Regions from separate parts of the Homo sapiens genome. Here region 2 is linked to region 1. Evidence: promoter capture Hi-C in human tissues and cell types (Jung and others, 2019). All regions are on one chromosome and are shown on one strand. The core of a region is centred on a gene start or on the middle of the fragment in contact, and the rest is flanking DNA. Distances in the headings are between cores, read along the strand shown. Region 1 holds the start of THY1 (Thy-1 cell surface antigen). Region 2 overlaps LOC105369526 (a long non-coding RNA gene).

What was found. The method cuts DNA at HindIII sites, captures the fragments that hold promoters and counts their contacts. A contact is called where the count stands out against the background at its distance.
Region 2: a fragment that was not itself captured here is called in contact with the fragment with the promoter of THY1 in region 1 in 1 of the 25 tissues and cell types used here (dorsolateral prefrontal cortex).

The regions. Positions count from the first base shown.
Region 1 is chr11:119,420,883-119,426,935 of GRCh38, forward strand. THY1 (Thy-1 cell surface antigen) reads right to left here and starts at 2,290. Exons shown (of 4, transcript NM_006288.5): 1 at 2,231-2,290; 2 at 1-47. The coding sequence starts at 23. The region is part of intron 2 of USP2-AS1 (USP2 antisense RNA 1); the gene reads left to right. RefSeq lists enhancers at 1,036-1,602, 1,603-2,168. The HindIII fragment of the contact is 13,176 bases long and covers 1-5,714 here.
Region 2 is chr11:119,913,426-119,919,167 of GRCh38, forward strand. The region is part of intron 1 of LOC105369526 (a long non-coding RNA gene); the gene reads left to right. Among named protein-coding and RNA genes, the nearest start is that of LINC02744, 78 kb to the right of the region's middle. The HindIII fragment of the contact is 3,258 bases long and covers 2,864-5,742 here.

The DNA.
Region 1 (6,053 bases), core at 1,040-3,539:
GCGATGCTGATGGCCAGGTTCATGGTTCTGGGATCTCAGTCCTGGATCTGGGGTGGGAACAGGATGGGAATCAGCCAAGCTGTGCCACACTTACCACCAGGGCTGGGGGTCCCTGGGAACATGGCATAGTGGCTATGGCAGTCATCTAAGTCCCTCTCTCCATTCCCCCTCTCGTCCCTGCATCTCACTGAACATGATACTGCCACTGGCTCTTTCCTGCTCAGGGAAAGCAAGGAAGGAGGGAGAACAAGCCCAGTCACGGTGTGTTTCTGCGCTTGGCCATGGAGCACTTACTAGCTGGGTGACTTTAAGTAACTTTACCACTCTTTCTCCTCTTCTTACATTAACATAGTGTATGGTAATATAAGACCTATGAGGGCTGAGGCTTCGTATTTAAAAAAAAAATTTAATCGTGGTAAAATACAAAAAGCATAATAATTACTATTTTAACCATTTAAATTCAGTACTTAAATTCAGTATATTCAGCAGTGCTGGATACATTCACGTTGCTATGCAGCCCATCTCCGGAACTCTTTTTGTCTTTCAAAGTAAAACTCTGTATCTGTTAAACAAAGACTCCCCATTTAGGGACTTCCCATTTCCTGTTCAGAAGAAAATCCCCAATGCTCAAAACCGTTTCCGTTTGCAGATTACTGGCATATAGCATACACTCCAAAGATATTTATTGTGAATGAATGAATGAATCTCTCTGAATCTTACATACCCACCGGGTTATGATGGGGGTTAAGAAAAACAACCAACATCTGGCGATGACTGCTTCATATACGTGAGACACAAATCCCTAAGTCACTCGCCATCCCCAGTGGATGGCTAGATACCATTCACCATAGCTAAGGATGCTCCCAGATAGGGAGCATCTATTCCTATCTGGATAGGACACAAGCTAATCGTGTTCCTGGAGGAGAGAAAGACATAGTGATCTCCGATTGTATGTGAGCCAAGGATGCTTCCCAATGTCCAGCTCTCTGGAGTTCCTGGGACTGCAGTTTTCCAGCCCAGTTTCAATAGCCACCCTGGATAGGCTGTCTGCCTGGTCTTTTTTTGTTTTTTGCAGCCTTGGCTGAACCAACCCTTGGCGAGGCGACGCGGAGCCGGTAGTCTAGCCTATCTGCAGAGCAGTGCTCGCCCAGGAGAGGCCACAGAAGGGGCGTGCACCCGCGAGAGCGCGCAGGGCATTGCCTCGGTTGAGTGCGCCCGGGTGCGCAGGGCGCACCACTAGACGAGTTCAGGGTCCCTGGCGCTCAGCCCCTTGACGGGTGAGGCTAGGATCCCGCGGCGGCTGCAGCTACAATCAATGCTCTCTCTGTCCCGGGGTGGAGCTGCTGCCCTGAGCCAGATCCAGGAGGAAGGGGGGTCGGCATCTGGCTTTTGAATCGAGGACTCTTGTTTGAGATGTTGTGCGGGCTTGGGATCTAGGAGGGGAAGGGGGAGCAATGGCCAGAGCAAGAAAGGGAAGAAATGGGTCTGGGGCTGGAGAGGGTAGAAGAGCCAGGGGAGGGGTGGAGAGCGGCTGGGGAGGTGCAGTCTGTATTCATTTCCTCTGGTCTGTGTCCTCAGGCGGCTCCAGACCCAGAGAAGGTCTGCTCTTCCTCCCTCTCAAGCCCCCGGCGGGCCTCATCCTTAATCCATTTCCGTATTCCAATCCTCTCCTTTCCCAAATGAGTCCCCCTTCCCCCTCTCTCATCCTTTTCCAGCTCTCCCCTCCCCCGTCCGCCCGCCTTCCACCCAGTCCCCGCCTGCGGCACTGCGGCTTCCTTCTCCTCCGGTGCCCCGCACCCAGCCCGCCGCGAGGTCACCCGGCAGATTCCCTCTAGCTCGCCATCCTCCATCCTCTCCCCGCAGTTTCATCCGTCCTCCTCCCCGCCTCTGCGAGCTGGGTTTGGGGACGTCTGGGTGGAATGTAGACCCACAGGCTGTCCTTGGTGCCCTTCCTCCCTGTTCTCCAGCGCCCCAGCCCCAGACACCAGTCCCCCAGCGGGCGAAAGCCCGGGAGCGCCTTCCCCGAAAGACATCAGGGTGCCACGCGGCCCCTGCCCTGCAGAAGCATCCCCCTCCCGCCCCTGCCTGGAAAGCAGGCCCCTCCCTAAGCTCTGCGCCCTTCTTCCCTGGGCGCCCTCGGACCGTGGCCCGAAGCCTAGTGTTGGGAAGTCTTGCATGGGCGCCTGACGGCGGTCCCCGAGCCCCAGGTCCCACCGGCTCCAGTTCCCACCTGGACTGGGGTCTTCCGCTGCTGCAGCCTCCTCCAGACGCGCCGCCGCCTCCGGTTGCTGCACCCAGCTCGGAGCCCGCAGTTTTCACCGGGGATGGAGGAGAGGGGGAGCGGGGAGCCGGGGGCTCAGCCAATCAGAGGCGGAGATTGGGGGAGAAAGGACGGCAGGGTGGGGTGGGGGGTGGGGAAGGAAGAGAAGGCGGTCCCGCATTGGTGTGAGAGTGGCAGGTTGCGGCGGAAGGGGGCCCTCACCCTGTGGCTGGCAGGCCTGGCCAGGGACGGGAGGGTTCGGGACCCCGGGGATCAGGGTGCGGCAGCCCAAAGAACATTATCCTCCTCCCTGAGCCCCGCAATGGTTGTTCCCCTTTTAAGGCTTTAACCCTTTCTTCTGACCTATTCTTCAGGAGTCTGTGGGAAAACCAAAGTGTAAGAGGTGCAGGATGCAGGCCGGGAGCGCCCACGCCTCCACATTTCCTTTTCAGCTGGAGCCCACCTCCTCCGGAGCCTCCAGTGAGAAGTTTTGGAATATTCCAGTCTTTCTGAAAGGAAGCTGGTTGGGTGTTTTTCAGTGTTGGAGCAGCCCTTCGGAAGCGAGGCAGGTGCTGGACCCACCCTGTCCGTCCCTGGTCCCCAGCCCCATTTCGCCCCCTCATCTATTCCAGAGCACCCAGCCCTTCAGGGGGCTGCAGGCGCTTTTTGCTCTGGGCATTACGTCTTCTTCAGCCCCTGGGCTGGCACCTTCTGGTCCAGACAGCTGGAAGGTTCTTCTGGCTTTCCTGAGTACAGTCTGCTTGTTTGGTCTTCAGACCAGGAAGGGAGTGTTGCCTTTTAGCAGGCACTGTGCTGGGCACATTACATTCATGGCGACCTTTAACCCATGGCCGCCTGCTGGGTTCATCCCATCTCAATCCTCACCTCCTGTCTTGGCTGGTAAGTGGGAGAGCTGGAGAACTGACCTGGGCTATGGACCCCAGCTCTCAAGGGTGAGCCATTCCTCTTGCTCATCCCTGCCTAGTGGGAGAAGAGAGAGAGGAACTCTGGGAAAGAGGAGGAGACAGCACAAAAAGGACTGAGTCGAGGCCAACTCCTGATCACCTGGGGCACTCCTGATAACCCACCGATTGGATGTCACCAGAAGCCCTAGGCTCATTTTTAGAGACAGTGCTGATGACTTTCTCTCACTCACAGGTGTAGTGAATTTTTTTGAACTAACGTTTATTTGATTGATTTGTATCCTGCCAGCCTCTTTATGAATTCTGATCACGACATTCTGTGGGCCTCCCCAATGTCTGCCTGCCTGTTCTCCTATTTCTTCATGGAAGTCAGCCCTGGCACCTTCCCTGCAGTTTCTGATACTGCAGTGGCACTGTTGGAAGCCACTGTTGGAAGCTTGCAAGTGGGAGGAGATTCGCTTGGTTTCCCAGCATTTAGGGTGATGGAACACTCTAACTGGAATGAGCCTTGCAGATGGTTAAGTCCAAAGGAGCTATTCACTTTGGTAAACTGCAGAGGTTTCTAGGGCATTTTATGAAAAATGCAGCTGGCCTTGCCCACCTAGGACCTCCTTAATCTAGTACTAGAGCCAGCTGAGTCTGCACTTTTCTCACGCTCCCCAGGATCTGGGGACTCTAACACATGATCTGGTAAGACTGTCCCTCTTCATAGGTGAGCTAACCTGGCTTCTTGTTTGTAGGATACTTTTTAAGGCCATGAATGTCCTGGCCCCTGGCTGCTGACTTCCCTCCTCCCTCCAACTCCATCCCAGCCATCTTCCCATTCATCTACCTGATGCATTCCAGACACACTGGCTCTGGCTTCTGTCTGCCTCTTCATGGCAGCGCACTCCTTCCTGCTTAACAGCTTTCTGATTCTGAGTCCAGGGATCTTAACTGCAGAAGGCATCTGGGCTCTGCTGGCTGAGGCCCTGGATGCTCCGTTTCCCACTCTTTGGCCCTGTCTCTGAGTGTTGCTGGGTGGAAGGCCTAGCAGTGCTATTTTGATAAGGTTATGAGGACCTGGCCTAATTTCTGGGTCCCCAAGCACCTTGCTTTTAGGCAGGGGAGGGGAGTATAGACTGTAGAAGGTGTGGCAATTCTGTGTCTGCCAAGCAAGATCTCTGATTGGATGGAATTAATGGCTCTGATTAGACATCTGAGGTCAGGGGATAGAGCACAAGGTGGTGGAGGGAGGAGATTTTAAAACTCCATTTACTGTGGATAGGATCGGAGTGCTGAAACCAGCAAGGCTTTAGAGGAATCCAGCTAAGGCAAGACTTCCTGCCAGAAGACTGCGGCTGCCCTGTTGGTCTCTTAGATCTCTCTTTTCCCACCATCTCCTGTTTTCCCACCCAGAAACATATGGGGATAAAAACTCTTCTAAAAACACACAGTCCTTTAGCATGACCTAGGGACTGCCAGCCATTCCCTCATTTCATCAGATTGTCTTTCTAGAATCACAGAGGTGACTACAGTGGTCCCATCTTTTAAATTTTATTTTATTTTATTTTTGAGCCAGGGTCTCACTCTGTTGCCTAGGCTAGAGTGCAGTGGTGCAATCACCACTCACTGAAGCTTTGACCTCCTGGGCTCAAGTGATCCTCCTACCTCAGCCTCCTGAGTAGCTGGGACAATAGGCACTTGACACTATGCCCAGCTAATTAATTTTTTTTTTTTTTTTTTGTAGAGATGGGATCTCACCATGTTGCCCAGGCTGATCTTGAACTCCTGGGCTCAAGTAATCCTCCCGCCTGGCCTCTCAAAATGCTGGGATTACAGGTGGGAGCCACTGCACCTGGCTTGCCCCACTATTTTATAGCTGGGACTTGAGGCCCGAGAAAGGTAATGATTTGTCAAGGTCAGACAAATATTTTGAAGCATGGTCTGGACTATTAGATCTTAAGTCTCCTGACTCCATGTTCCCACTGTGCTCTCCAGTGCTCCCAGGGCGGACCCTCAGATCTCTGCTAGACTCATTTCCCTGGTTCACGGTGAAATAAGTAAAACGAGGACAGTCCGGGGTACTCTGAACATAGCTGTCAGGTTATCACCTTGTTTTGATTTTATGTTCTTCACCCTGTTGATGAGGGAGAGATTCCCATCCCCTAAAGTTAGGGGGATCACATGACCTCAACACTGGACGAATGAGAGCAATAGCAGTTTATTAGTCACATATGCTCATACCTGGGAGGATAACACTGCACGCCATGAACTGCTTCATGGGAGTTGCACTCAGAAACAGGTATTACCAGGAGCTGTGGGAGGCAGGCTTTGTAATGTCAAAACGGTGGAATGCCCCCGTTTCCTGTAAGAGAATGTGATTGGCTGTTTGCATAATTCTGTGGGCTGGCAGGGTGCTGAAGCCCAGTACTCAGGGTTAAGCAGAAATTGTGCCTGGCCCCCACAATAAGGAGGGTGGTTTGGCTGGGGGACCTCATCAGCAAAGTAGGGAGGGGATCTTGTAATTAGGCCATTTGAGGTCTCCCTGATATCAAGGCAGCCATAATACTGAGCTCTAATCTTTGACTAATTGAGACTATACACCTGCCTTTCCTATACTTTCATTCTAAGGTTATACCTTTCCATTTTTCTGAAGAGATGGTGGTATTGATATGTGTGTATGTGTGGTTTTTAATGTCCTACTTTATATATAAAAAAAAGAAAATTGGTAACTTCCTGTTAACCCTCACACTTCTTTGGAAATGTGACTAAGTCTATGAAATTAAAATATCTTGGAACTGCTGCTCTACACTCCGCTACCTCTCCTAACCTCTAGTCGAGGTCAACTTCCTGAGCAAGGTCAGCTCCCTGAAGAACTGCATATTTGG
Region 2 (5,742 bases), core at 3,243-5,742, 490 kb after region 1:
TTTCACCAACAGAATGCTGTAGAAGTGATACTGCATGACCTCTGAGCCCAGGCCTTAAGGGACTTTGCAGCTTCTGTTCTTGGCCTCTGGCTGCTCTGTGACTACCATGGAAGGAGTTCCACACTAACCTCCTGTAGGGTAAGAGACACGTGGAGGCAGACTGAGCCTCCCAGCCATCCCACTGAGGCTCCAGGCGTGCCAGTGATGTACCTGGCTGAAGCCTGGCCCCCAGTCACCCACTGACGGCAGCTGCAAAGGTGCCCGTGATGAGGTGAGCAGAAGCCTAGAAGAAATTGCAGAATCATGAACAAATGGATAGCTGCCGTTTTCAGCCACCAAGTCTTGGAGTGGTTTTTCATGCAGCAATAGATACATGAGACAGGAAGCTTTGGAAGAAGTCATTTTAGCATTCATAAGGGACAAGGAGGGCAAGCTGGGCCTAGCTGGATTGGATAGTCGAATTTCAGAAGGTAGCATTGCCTAGATTCAGAAAAAGACCATTGCAATCCCACAGATAGGAGCTCTAAAAGTAAGGTGGCTCAGGAGGGCTGAGAGCATCTCAAACAGTGAGTTCTGGTGCTATAATCACAAATGAAGCTGATAAAGAAAACAAAGGTATTGTCATAGAAAAACACTGTGATACCCAAGGAGCCCTGTCCTGAGCTCAGATTATAAAGGGGCTTGCAGGGTATGGAGCGGTGGGGCCAGTGTCTATGTCCCAGGAAGACATAAACATGACACAGACCTGTGTGAAGGGTACCAGGGGCACCGTGGTCCACAGTGAGCTGGCAGTGCCAGCAACAATAAAAATGGGCACATTGAAAATTTTTGAAGCAAGAAGAACAAGGGGCGAGCCCCTCTCTTTATGGTGGACATTATCATGTTGAGAGAGGTTTGAGCAAAGCAATCTTCCCACTTTGCTTGTTTCCTGTCAAGGACAATATTCCCTGATCTGGAGAAAGTAGAAAAAAATACAGCTGAGAGAACTGAAGCCCAAATAAGATGAGGCAGTAGCAAGAACATGCTTGTTGTTGTTCGAGATTTTTATTCCCCAGCCAAAAATGTCTTTTATTCTAGAGCTCAAGAAGAGTTCTTGCAGGATGGTGGCCACACTAATAGTTCTCGCTATGGCAGGGTTTCTCCAGGGTGGTCACCTGTATCAGAATCCCACCCCCACATCCCCAACACAGCTGCTTGGCAAGAGCACAGCCTTCCCAACTCTCTCTCCCACTTATAATGTCAGACTCTAGGGTGGGGATCAGCATTTAGTTAGTGAACACATGCGTACGACTCCCTGACACTGTTCTAGACAATGTAGACATAACTCTCCTTTAATCTTCATAACAATCCTATGTGGGAGATTCTATATGACCTCTATTTTAGAGATAAGAAAACTGAGGCCCAGAGAAGTTGAATGGCCAGGGACATGGAAGGTGGCAGAGTTGGAACTTGAGCATAGGCCATCAGTCTAGCTCCAGAAGCCATGCTCCTAACCACTGGGATATGTGGCCTAGTGGATTATGGCCTAGTGGCCCATGGACTCCAGACAAGAACCACAGGCATCCTCCTGCACAGTTACATTTGCAAACCACTGCTTTAAATAATACCCAAACTGCCTGTAATCCCAGCACTTTGGGAGGCCAAGACAGGAGGATTGCTTGAAGCCAGGAGTTTGAGAAAAGGCTGGGCAACATAGTGAGATGCTGTATTAGTTCATTCTCATGCTGCCAATAAAGATATACCCAAGACCGGGTAATTTATAAAGGAAAGAGGTTTGATGGACTCACAGTTCCACTTGGCTGGGGAGGCCTCACAATCATGGTGGAAGGCAAAGGAGAAGAAAAGGCACATCTTACATGGTGGCAGGCAAGAGAGAGCGTGTGCAGGGAAACTTACCTTTATAAAACCATCAGATCTTGTGAGACTTAGTCACTATCATGAGAATAGCACAGGAAAGACCTGCCCCCATGATTAAATACCTCCCACCAGGTCCCTCCCACAACATGTGAGAATTATGGGAGCTACAATTCCAGATAAGATTTAAGTGGAGACACAGCCAAACCATATCAAACACTATCTCAGAAAACTAAAAAACTAGGAATGGTGGCACACACCTGTAGTCCCAGCTTCAAGAGACTGAGGCTGAAGCAAAAGGATCACTTGAGCCCAGGAGTTGGAGGTGAGGCTGCAGTGAGATATAATTGTGCCACTGCACTCCAGCCTGGATGACAGAGTGATAGCCTGTATCTTAAAAAAATTCTGACACCTGTAATCCCAGCTACTCAGGAGGCAGAGGCATGAGAATTGAGTTGTTTGAACCCAGGAGGTGAAGGTTGCAGTGAGCCAAGATCACGTCACTGCACTCCAGTCCGGGTGACAGAGAAAGACTCTGCCTCAAAAAAAAAAAAAAAAAAAAAAGAAAAGAAAAAAGAAAAAATCCTGAGAATGGGAGAGATAGAGAGAGAAGGAGAAATGCTGTCTCCAAATATAAGACCCTAGAGTCTATCATCTTTGGTAAAGCCTTAGCACAGTCATTAAATAGATGGTTTGTGATCACTTAGAGAAATGGTGAGTATCAGGAACCAGCATAGGTTCACTAAGCATGAGCCAAGTCAAATGAGCTCATTTATTCTATTGAGAGCATGGTTGGACCAGAGCATCTGGAATGTAGCAAACATTTTCCAACATCATTTCCACCCCCCGTGATTGGTTCATTTTGGGCCACTAAGCTGATTGAACCAATGAGTCATGAAGACAGACTTGCTTGAGGCTTTGGGGAGAAAGAGAATCCAGTCTGTCTCTCTCCTTGAATGGGAACAAAGTATGTTGCCCCAATTACTCTGGCAGCAACCTTAAGAGCCTAAGGGGAACCACATTATGCTATAAATGGTAGACAAGAGATGGATGGAATCTGAGTCTCTGCTGACATCATTGAGCGACTGAATCAACCAACCTTGATGCTGCATCTATCTCTAGGCTTCTTATTATGTGAGACCATCAGTTTCTTTATTGTTTAAACCACTTTGATTTAGGGCTTCTGTAACCTGCAGAAAAACATATTGTAACTAATACAAGGGGAATACCCTAGATATAATGCATTTCAGCTTCAGAAAATTATTTTACTCCAGTTTAAGATATCCCTGTGAGCAAAATGAAGAAATGAGAACTAAATAATATAATTAGGTAGATTCACACCAGTAAATCCAAAGTTGACCAGAGACTGGGTGGAACAAGCCAAGTGGTACCTTTAGAACAGCCAGGTGCATGCTCAGGAAAGTTGAGTGTACCTGCCTGTAGCAGGAGCCCCAGGCCAGGAGCATTCCGTCTTCTGGAATTTGTGTGGACATTGCCTGAAATGCCTCATTTGTGCCTGTGCATTCCCACGAGTGGTACATGTCTCAGGCTCCAACATTGGTATATACTTCCCTGAGCTACTGTCTTTTGCAGACCTGATGTCAAGACCTGGGTTTGTCTTCAGGTGCACTCTTGCCCCCTGGACAGGTGTGAGGTCTCCCAACTTTGGCATTTCTCCCTTGACCTTACCCTTTTCTCCTGGATTGGAACTGATCCCTGCCCTCTAAATCTTCAGAAGCAACCCCTGACATATCTTTAGTTTCAGTCCAAATATGCAGCCGTGGCTGGCATTTGATGCTGGAACCAATGTAATGCTTCTGTAACCATGCTCCACTCCATAAGATATGCAGTTATCTTATGTGAAAACATACTGTTCAATGGCATAATCAAGAGGTAGATTCTGACATGACCCACATCCATGTTTCTCTCAGCTTCTCAGCCAAGTGTACACACAAGAGATCAGTGTCACTAGTTAGGTGGTCTCTAGTGGGTGATATGAGAAATTTAGCCCTTAAATATCAGCCTGGCTGTAATCATCTCCTAGGTATAGAAAGGCATCTTACCCAATTTGCAAATGTCCCAAAGCTGCCAGGCTGGCTAAAGTACAGGCTGACAAACTACAACTTCAAAAAGATCCTAAAAGTAGTGGAATAATAGGCTGAGAATGTATTTTTTACTTAACTATTAAAGTAGCCTACAGCAGTTTATGTTAAAAATGGGCTGAGCCCGGGCAACATAGCAAGGCCCCATCTCTAAAAAAAATTTTTTTTTAATTACTTGGGTGTGGTGGCATGCACCTGTAGTCCCAGCTATTCAGGAGGCTGGGGCGGGAGGACCTCCTGAGCCCAAGATTCTGAGGCTACAGTGAGCTATGATTGCACCACTGCACTCCCGCCTGGGAGACAGACCAAATAAAACCCCGCAGTTTCTTTAAAATGGTCTATGATGTCATGTTGCTGCCCAAAAGGCCAATGGCATCTTAGGTTCACACTCGAAGTGTAATGTCCAAACAAAGCAGGTGATATCCCACTGGGAATCCTTTTGGGGGCCCATATTTGAAAATGGCTATCAAAGGAGAGGGGGCAAAGGAACAGAGGGAAGCCTCTGCAAAGCTCCAGAGCTGGGACCTGGGATCAGTCAGTGAAAGTTACAGAGAAGCAGAGGATTCAGCTTATTCTGAAGAATGATTTCCTATACAACAAAACTTAAGACACATTAATATGACAAGTGCTGTGCAAGGCTATGGGTCATTCAGTCCCAGGTTCAAATCCCAGCTCTGCCGCATGCTAAATGCATCACCACGGACAGCTCGATTTCTCTGAGACTCAATTTAAGCTACCTCACTGGCTTAATTGCAATAGTCTACCTAGAGGGTTTAGCATAGTGCCAGGCACAGCATCAGTGCTCAATAATCTACAGTAGCATTATTAATAACAACAATCAAGTAGGGTTTGAGGTAAGGTAATAGGTTCCCCATCATTGGAGTGTTAAGCAGAGGCTATGTGTCAACACATCAGGAATGTCGGAGAGGATTTGTATGCTCTGGGTTGGAGGTGGAAATAGCTGATTTCTACAGCCCCTAAAAACTATAATTCTATGATTTAAAACCATTATAAGAGCCCAGACTTCTGGTCGGTCAGGGACAGTAATCTATTACTAGGATTGAAATTCCCTGCTGGCTCAAGGGCCCAGAAGTTTCATTGTCTGAATTACTGTTCAAGCATGCCTTGCATATGCCTGTGGTCATCCACGTGTTCTGTGTGTGTACACGTGGGAGTGTGTGTGAACATGTGTTTGCCTAGAACTGTGCCCCGCTCTGTAAGACAGCCAGTTATCATGTGTGAAAACATTCCATTTAATGGCATCATGAAGGGATAGATTCTGACGTGACCCAGGTCCGTGTTCTGCTCAGCTCCTCTGCCAAGTGTACACACAAGAGACATTTCCCTCTGCTGATTTCTGTGATGTTTGTTCTTGGACAGAAAGCTTATCAATAAGGTCCTCAGACTGTCGATTCTCTTCAACAGCTGAGGGGCAGGAATGTGGGCTGGGATTTGATAACTTGTGGTTGAGACCCTGCCCAGGGCTACCCCTTCCAGAAAGAATTCTCTAAGCCCCTGGCATTTGTCTTCATCCCCGTTGGATTCCTTTTGTAGGCTTTTTGCACCCTTTAAAGACTTTTTCTCATCGCACCTGAGGCACTCTCTGCCAATCTGTTATATCAGCTCTCTTCTCTTGGAGGAAAAGCATCTGACAAACAAGTAAGTACTGAGTGGTTGGTACCCAGGAGCACTGGTCATGTGCCAGGAACTGTGCCCATCACATGTCAACAAGGGCTTGTAACTCAGCAGGAAAGTTAGAGACAACCCCCAAAGTATAAAAACCTGC